3 separate regions of the Homo sapiens genome follow, and regions 2 and 3 are each linked to region 1. Evidence: promoter capture Hi-C in 16 types of primary human blood cells and fetal thymus (Javierre and others, 2016). All regions are on one chromosome and are shown on one strand. Each heading gives the region's core, a stretch centred on a gene start or on the middle of the fragment in contact. The rest is flanking DNA. Distances are from core to core; before and after follow the strand shown. Region 1 holds the start of IFFO1 (intermediate filament family orphan 1). Region 2 has its middle 4.6 kb from the start of CD9. Region 3 has its middle 16 kb from the start of VWF.

What was found. The method cuts DNA at HindIII sites, captures the fragments that hold promoters and counts their contacts. A CHiCAGO score of 5 or more calls a contact.
Region 2: a contact is called between a fragment that was not itself captured here and the fragment with the promoter of IFFO1 in region 1, in 1 of 17 cell types (non-activated CD4 T cells). The highest score is 6.1, in non-activated CD4 T cells.
Region 3: a fragment that was not itself captured here is called in contact with the fragment with the promoter of IFFO1 in region 1 in 1 of 17 cell types (naive CD4 T cells); the score reaches 5.5 in naive CD4 T cells.

The regions. Positions count from the first base shown.
Region 1 is chr12:6,554,704-6,557,593 of GRCh38, reverse strand. It overlaps IFFO1 (intermediate filament family orphan 1), which reads left to right and starts at 1,552. Exons shown (of 10, transcript NM_001193457.2): 1 at 1,552-2,337. The coding sequence starts at 1,565. NOP2 (NOP2 nucleolar protein) reads left to right here. Exons shown (of 16, transcript NM_001258308.2): 16 at 1-723. The coding sequence ends at 601. RefSeq lists silencers at 1,375-1,534, 1,585-1,824, 1,935-2,114 and an enhancer at 2,575-2,890. The HindIII fragment of the contact is 7,963 bases long and covers 179-2,890 here.
Region 2 is chr12:6,194,317-6,197,239 of GRCh38, reverse strand. No RefSeq gene overlaps it. Among named protein-coding and RNA genes, the nearest start is that of CD9, 4.6 kb to the left of the region's middle. The HindIII fragment of the contact is 278 bases long and covers 1,305-1,582 here.
Region 3 is chr12:6,138,940-6,141,720 of GRCh38, reverse strand. No RefSeq gene overlaps it. Among named protein-coding and RNA genes, the nearest start is that of VWF, 16 kb to the right of the region's middle. The HindIII fragment of the contact is 753 bases long and covers 1,109-1,861 here.

The sequences.
Region 1 (2,890 bases), core at 303-2,802:
CCCCAAGTCTGAGAACAGCAGCCAGCCAGCCAAGAAAGCCAAGGGGGCTGCAAAGACAAAGCAGCAGCTGCAGAAACAGCAACATCCCAAGAAGGCCTCCTTCCAGAAGCTGAATGGCATCTCCAAAGGGGCAGACTCAGAATTGTCCACTGTACCTTCTGTCACAAAGACCCAAGCTTCCTCCAGCTTCCAGGATAGCAGTCAGCCAGCTGGAAAAGCCGAAGGGATCAGGGAGCCAAAGGTGACTGGGAAGCTAAAGCAACGATCACCTAAATTACAGTCCTCCAAGAAAGTTGCTTTCCTCAGGCAGAATGCCCCTCCCAAGGGCACAGACACACAAACACCGGCTGTGTTATCCCCATCCAAGACTCAGGCCACCCTGAAACCTAAGGACCATCATCAGCCCCTTGGAAGGGCCAAGGGGGTTGAGAAGCAGCAGTTGCCAGAGCAGCCTTTTGAGAAAGCTGCCTTCCAGAAACAGAATGATACCCCCAAGGGGCCTCAGCCTCCCACTGTGTCTCCCATCCGTTCCAGCCGCCCCCCACCAGCAAAGAGGAAGAAATCTCAGTCCAGGGGCAACAGCCAGCTGCTGCTATCTTAGATGGTTGAAAACTAGACGGGTGGCTCACTGCCATTGTCACCAGGTTGGAACTCTTGCCTCTGTGAGGATGCCTTCTCTACTGTGCATACCCATGAAATTTAATACACATTTTAAAACCTCTGGCCACTGAGTATTTTTGAGGGAACTGGGTGCTGCCTTTGCCGCTTTAAGGGTAAAGATGGGAGGTGGGACTGGGATCTTCTGAGGAGAGGGAATGGTTGGGTGCTACTGAGAAATAAGGTCAGTTTTAGGCTCCTGCATCCTTGGGTTTTCCCAGGAAGGGAAAGCCCTGGAGTCAGAGCTAGGGGTGATTGAACTCCGGGGAGAGGAGGGCAATAGAAGTGTAGGGGAAGGCGGGGCACACTAGCTCATGCCTGTAATCCCAGCACTTTCTGGGAGGCCAAGGCGGGTGGATCACCTGAGGTCAGGTGTTCGAGACCAGCCTGGCTAACATGGCGAAACCTCGTCTCTACTAAAAATACAAAAAATCAGCCGGGTGTGGTGGCGGGTGCCTGTAATCCCAGCTACTCGGGAGACTGAAGCAGGAGAATCGCTTGAACCTGGGAGGCTGAGGTTGCAGTGAGCCAAGATCGCGCCACTGCACTCCAGCCCGGGCGACAGTGAGACTCGGTCTCAAAAAAAAAAAAAGTCGTGTAGGGGAGATGGGCTTGCCACCAGAACCCATGGGGTACTGGAGGTCCTGGGCTTTACGCCACCCCGGCTGGAGTCCAGGCGGTGGCTCCCCTCATCACAGGGCTCGGCCTCAGACCCGGAAAGGTCCAGGGTCCGGCCTCCAATTGGAGCCTGTCATTGGCTTCCCCTCGGCCCGCCCCCTGACCTCTGCCCCGCTGCCGAGCCGCCTGATTGGTCGGCTCTGTCCCGCCGGCGCCGCATTGGCTCTTCTGGCTCGCCTTCCATCCCTGCTCCTGCACCGGTCTGCATCTCCCAGCAGAAGGCGCAGCCATGAATCCGTTATTCGGCCCCAACCTCTTCCTCCTGCAGCAGGAGCAGCAGGGCCTGGCCGGGCCACTGGGGGACTCACTGGGAGGCGACCACTTCGCCGGGGGAGGAGACTTGCCCCCGGCGCCTCTCTCGCCGGCCGGCCCTGCTGCCTACTCGCCGCCCGGGCCGGGCCCGGCCCCGCCTGCCGCCATGGCCCTCCGCAATGACCTGGGCTCCAACATCAACGTGCTCAAGACCCTGAACCTCCGGTTCCGCTGCTTCCTGGCCAAGGTGCATGAGCTGGAGCGCCGGAACCGGCTGTTGGAGAAGCAACTGCAGCAAGCGCTGGAGGAGGGTAAGCAGGGCCGGCGGGGCCTGGGTCGTCGCGACCAGGCAGTGCAGACCGGCTTCGTCAGCCCCATCCGGCCCCTGGGGCTGCAGCTGGGCGCCCGGCCGGCCGCTGTCTGCAGCCCTTCGGCGCGCGTGCTGGGCTCGCCCGCGCGCTCCCCGGCCGGCCCCCTCGCGCCCTCCGCGGCCAGCCTCTCGTCGTCCTCCACCTCCACCTCCACCACCTATTCCTCGTCGGCCCGCTTCATGCCCGGCACCATCTGGTCGTTCTCGCACGCCCGCCGGCTCGGGCCGGGACTGGAGCCCACTCTGGTGCAAGGGCCTGGCTTGTCGTGGGTGCACCCGGATGGGGTGGGCGTCCAGATCGACACCATCACGCCCGAGATCCGCGCTCTCTACAACGTGCTGGCCAAAGTGAAGCGGGAGCGGGACGAGTACAAGCGGAGGTAGGGATTGGGAAAGGGGGACAGGTCTCTCTGTGTCATACCACTCACAACGGGCCGCGAGTTGGTGTGGGTTCCGAAGAATCAGGGGTGAAAAGAATGAGAGTAAAGTTTGTGCTGTGTAATGAGGAGCTTGGAAGCAATTGGATGCAGGGAGACTAGAATCCGCAGAGAATGCAGAAGCCCTGCTCGTGACAGGAAGAAGGACGCTGGGAGCGGAACACGGGGGGATTCCTACTTTTCCGGCTTGTCTCTGCCATCCAGGCTTAACTGCGGGTTTTGTGCGGTGTGAAAGGGACTGGGGCTCTGCCCTACCGGTCTCAGCCCTGGGGCAGGTTAGGGATATAAACTTCAAAAGTAGGAGGCAAGGATATAGCGTAAATTTGGGAGACTAAATTGAGTGAAACTGGAAGGGGCTGGTGAGGGAGGGGCTGTACCTTGCAACGAGTGATTCTTTCACACCCCAAGGTTTCCCAAAGAATATTGATGGAAACCAGGTACCTGCTGTGGTTTCATAGGAAAAGCTCCGGGACCTCAAGCCATTGCTTGAGTAGGT
Region 2 (2,923 bases), core at 194-2,693, 360 kb after region 1:
AGGTGAGGAGATCGAGACCATCCTGGCCAACATAGTGAAACCGCATCTCTACTAAAAATACAAAAATTAGCCAGGCATGGTGGCGCATACCTATAATCCCAGCTACTCGGGAGGCAGAGGCAGGAGAATCCCTTGAACCAGGGAGTTGGAGGTTGCAGTGAGCCGAGATCGCGCCACAGCACTCTAGCCTGGCGACAGAGTGAGACTCCGTCTCAAAAAGAAAAAACAAAAAAAGCTATGCACTTCTTGTTGGGCGCTGTGACTCACACCTGTGATCCAAGCACTTTAGGAGGCCGACGCGGGAGGATCATGAGGTCAGGAGATCAAGACCATCCTGGCTAACACGGTGAAACCTCGTCTCTACTAAAAATACAAAAAAATTAGCCGGGCGTGGCGGCGGGCGCCTGTAGTCCCAGCTACTCAGGAGGCTGAGGCAGGAGAATGGCGTGAACCCGGGAGGCAGAGCTTGCAGTGAGCCGAGATCGCGCCACTGCCCTCCAGCCTGGGGGACACAGCCAGACTCCGTCTCAAAAAAAAAAAAAAAAAAAAAAGCAGCTATGCACTTCTTTCACAATTTGCCCATGAGGAAATTTCTGGTGGACCCTATGATATTTGCCCTAAAACAGTTCTGTTGAATTTCACCATGACAATGTAAATTGATAGCATATCTTCACAGGTACAGAAAAAAGGACAGAACTCAAAGTCATCCCTCTGCTCACCTGAGACAAATGCATATCTGATTGCTTCCTCCAATGTAAAAATGAAGATTCGCTGTGCTAGACAAGGCATAAGTGACTTATTTCTCTACCCTCCTCTGCCATGTAAATTGTGCATTCAGTGAGAGGATGATCAGTGACTCAAAAGAATGCAACCGTTTGTTTCTTACCTACCCACACCTTAAAAAAACTTTCTTCCTCTTTCCCCACCAGCCGCCTTTTAAATATTGAAGCCCTCAAAATCATCTTTGCAGAAGGCACAGATCTGCCTCCTGGGCGCCCATCTGTAACCTTGGCAAAATAAACTTTCTAAATTGATTGAGACCTGTCTCAGATACTTTTTGGTTCACAGCATTTTGGATCAGGAGGTGTCTTTCATTCCTCCTGACATTCTGTGTCACAATAAACCCCTGGGCCAAAGTGCATTTGTTACAGACAGTTAGTGCTACAGGCAACCAGGAAGGTGAGCGATGGAAAAATTATGTTTTGCCTTAACCGGAAGAGGAAAATATGGGTAAGCCCCTGAGTCAGAAATCACATGGAAGCAGCCAGGCCTTCCAGGCTTTGTGGTGCTGGAGTGGGAAAGCTTTTCCTCCCTTCCCTCAAGGCGTCCTGTCTCTGGGAAAGAAACCCCAGCTCAGGCTCAGGGTCCACTTTGGCTCTTGTGCCCCCCCTGGTGGTAAGATTTGAACACGCAGAGGCCAGGTGACCTAATGAGCCGTCACACCCATGCCCCAGGTCCCTCCAGCTGTGGGCAATGGCTTTGTAAGGCAACAGGTAGGACCCTCGCTCTCACAGGCCACCAAGGCCCTTCCAGCCACCACACCAGTGGCCATCTTGATTCACCTCCTTCACTTCTAGAAGCTTCTCTCCTGTTCCTCTTTCTAAGCTCAAATACACCACCTTATGAAGCCTTCCTGGAGCACTCCAGTCTTTTTCTCCGTGGATTACCTTGAGTCTCGCATGTGTGATTCTCTGGTCATCATCATCTTCCTTTATGTGTCCACTTCTTGGTAGTGAGCTCCTCGAGGGTGCACTTGCATTTGATTAATTTCTGTGCTCTCCCTAGCTCCCGGTCCCTTCCTGGCCCAGAGCAGGCCCTCTGCAAACATCTGCAGAATGACGGCTGGGCGTGGGGCTTTCTCAGGCCCCTGCCCTTCTCTCTCAGACCTCTCCTGGAGCACTCATCCCCTTTTGTGCCTTCCACCATTTTCTCTGTTTAACTCATCTCTCTGTAAATGCAAGTCCTGATATCCAAGAGCCTGCAGATTTTTTTTTTTTGAGACCAAGTCTCGCTCTGTTGCCCAGGCTGGAGTGCAGTGGCTCAATCTCGGCTCACTACAACCTCCATCCCTGGGCTCAAGAGACTCTCTTGCCTCAGCCTCCCAAGCAGATTGAATTACAGGTGTGCGCTGCCATGCCCGGCTAATAATTTTTTTTTTTTTAGACGGAGTCTCGCTTTGTCACCCAGGCTGGAGTGCAGTGGCACGATCTTGGCTCACTGCAACCTCTGCCTCCCGGGTTCAAGTGATTCTTCTGCCTCAGCCTCCCAAGTAGCTGGGACTACAGGCGCACACCACCATGCCCAGCTAATTTTTGTATTTTTAGTAGAGACGGGGTTTCACCATATTGGCCAGGCTGGTCTTGAACTCCTGAATTCGTTATCTACCCACCTCAGCCTCCCAAAGTGCTGGGATTACAGGCGTAAGCCACCGTGTTTTTTATATTTTTTATATTTTTTATATTTTTAGTAGAGATGGGGTTTCCTCCTGTTGGTCAGGCTGGTCTTGAACTCCTGGCCCCAGGTGATCCGCCCACCTCAGCCTCCCAAAGTGCTGGGATTACAGGCGTGCGCCACCGTGCCTGGCCCGTTTCCACTTCTAACGGCCCTCCAAATAGGCCCACGTTCCAATCCCCAAAACTGTGAATGTGTTACTTTCCATGGCATAGCCTGGACCATCCCAGTGGGCCCAGTGGAATCCAAAGGGTTCTTATAAGAGACAGGTGGAAGTGTCAAAGCCAGGGAAGGAGATGTGACGACAGAAGCAGAGGTCGCAGTGATGCACAGCTGTGTGTTGGGGAACAAGGACAGCCTCTAGAAGCTGGAGAAGGCGAAGAAACGAATTCTCCCCTGCAGCTGCCAGAGGGATCCAACACAGCCCTGCCCACCCATTTTAGATTTCAGACCTCTAGAATTGTGAAATAGT
Region 3 (2,781 bases), core at 236-2,735, 420 kb after region 1:
ATCCTCCTGCCTGAGCCTCCTGAATAGCTAAGATGACAGATGTGTGCCACTACACCTGGCTAATTTTTTCTTTTTTTTGTAGACATGAGGTCTCACTTTGTTGCCTAGGCTGATCATTGTTTTTAAAATTTCTATCTTTACTGATTTTTATCTGCCTGACCTATGGATAATTGAGAAAGCCTTTTTGAAGTCAATTGTCAATTTATGTATTTTGAAGCTATTTTGTAAGATGCATATAAATTTGAGTTGCTGTAACTTTCTGCCTCTCAAATTAGAACCCCAGGTCTTGAGATAGTGATTCTGGGGTCAGGAATCCTGCTGTGCTACTACTGGGGCCAGGAATGCCACCAGATGTAATGGTCTGAGTTCTCTGTAGCTCGATAGCAGCAATAATGTGGTGTCATTGTTCCTGAGAACCAGGGAAGATGAGTCTGAAGCTGCACCATTCTTCTGACATTGTAGCGTGGGTGGGTCCTCTCTATTTTGATGATTGTGAAGGAAGTGAGCATGTTATTCTTGCACAAGATGTTTGTCTTTAGAAGAGAGGAAGTAGAGGAGGACAGCTTCCTCTCCGCTGGGGGCTACAGCTTTATGCTGGGAGCTGGTCGTCTGGCCTAAGAAATACTGCTGTGTTTATTTATTTGGCGCATACTGCCAAGAAAATTCTCTTTCCTGCAGAATTTACGTAAGAGAGATGCTACAAATATACAAAGAAAAGACAAAGATGGGTCCTCCTAGAAAACCTTTCCTCCCCTGAGGTTCTTTTGCTTTTGTACTAGTTACCTGGAGAACTTACTCCTCAGACAGGCAGAGGTCAATTTACCCATCCCCCTGCCTCTGAGCAGCCCTGCCCCATGCGCCCCCAGAGGTCACGCACCCTTCCCATTTGTACTTAATGCTGTTTACATCAGCCCAAGTTCTAATGGCTCTCATACTGTGGTCCTCAGGGATCCTTCTTCCTTGAGCCTCACAGCACTAATTGTCCTCTAACTTATTTGGCAAAGCTGCCTTGGGACACCCTCCATGAGGGCAAGGGAGCAGGTTGTGTGGCATGATATCTTGGCCTATATTAGTTTTCTATTGCTGCAGTGACAAATGACCACAAGCTTAGTGGCCTGAAACAACACAAATTTATCTTACAATTCGTAATTGTAAGAAGCTCGAATTGGATCAAAATCAAGGTGTGTTGGAAGAGCTGGATTCCTTCTGTAGGTTCTATGGGAGAACCTGTTCTTCGCCTCTATCCACTTCCAGGGGCACACATTCCTTGCCTCGTGGCCCCGCGTTGCATGACCTCTGCTCGCATCATCACATCTCCTTCCCTGATGCTGACCCTCCTGCTCCTCTTATAAAAACTCTTGTGATTATATCGGCCCAGCAGGATACTCTGGGGTAAGCCAGGATCATCTCCCCATCTCAAGACCCTTAACTTGCTCACATCTGCAAAATCCCTTTTGCCATGTAAGGTAGCATTCAGAGGTTTGAGATGGGATGTAGACATCTTTGGCTGTTCTTCTGCTACCGTAATGTGTTACGTGGTTGGCTGTATCTGCTCTTCTCTTGTCAAACCCATGGTCTCCTCCAGGCCCTCGTCTTCCCTGTCCGGGAAGGTTCCACCAACCACTAATGGATCTCCCTTTCTCCATCTGACCTCTCACAATACATGCCACTGCTGCCAGAGGGCCTCATCTGGTGTCACAGGATGAACATAAACCCCTACACTGGTTGAAGGTCCCTGAGGACTTGCCTCTTATTCCTCTCTTTGGTCTCTTTTCCTGTGAGTCTCCTTTATAGGCTGTAACAACTGGCTTATTCACCTACTTACTGATTTAGCATCTCAGAGCTTGCCTGCTTCTAAGCTTTTACTTCCTTCCTTGCAGCTGATGTGCCTTTGCCCTCATTTTCACCTGGCAAAATCCTACTCAGCAAATGGGTAATTAAACCATTGCAACCATTATAAACCATTGCAATTTTTCAGGGGGGCCATTTGGCCTTATTGTCAAAGGCCTCACTGAAAATGTGGACGGTGGCTGACCCAGTGCTCCACATGTAGGATTTCATCCTGTGGGAGTAATCCTGAGGGTTGTGCATGGATATAGCTTCAAAGATGTTCACTGCAGCATTGTTAATTAAAAAAAAAAAAAAGTAGGCCGGGAGTGGTGGCTCACGCCTGTAATCCCAGCACTTTGGGAGGCAGAGGCGGGCGGATCACGAGGTCAGGAGATTGAGGCCATCCTGGTTAACGCGGTGAAACCCTGTCTCTACTAAAAATACAAAAAATTAGCCGGGTGTAGTGGCGGGTGCCTGTAGTCCCAGCTACTCGGGAGGCTGAGGCAGGAGAATGGCATGAACCCAGGAGGTGGAGCTTGCAGTGAGCCGAGATTGCGCCACTGCACTCCAGCCTGGGTGACAGAGCGAGACTGCATCTCAAAAAAAAAAAAAAAAAAAAAAAAGTAGCACTAACCTAAATAAATATCCCATAATATGGAACTGGTTACATAAATTGTGGAATATCAGTAAGTGAACTATTCCAGCCAAGTGTGTTATACTCTGATAAAACAGACACTTGAGTGTTATTTAGAAATAGTGCCAGAGTGTCATATGAGTTACAGGCGCAGAATACCACATGGGAACGTGACCCCAGTCTGATGTCCCTGCCCCCTTGCAGAGCCATCCTGTGACTTTCACCGTGCAATTTCCCCAACCACAGTGACGAGTGCTATCTTCTGTGCTGATGATTTGGAGAGCAGGCAACAACTTCCTTGGGTATTAAGCAATTTT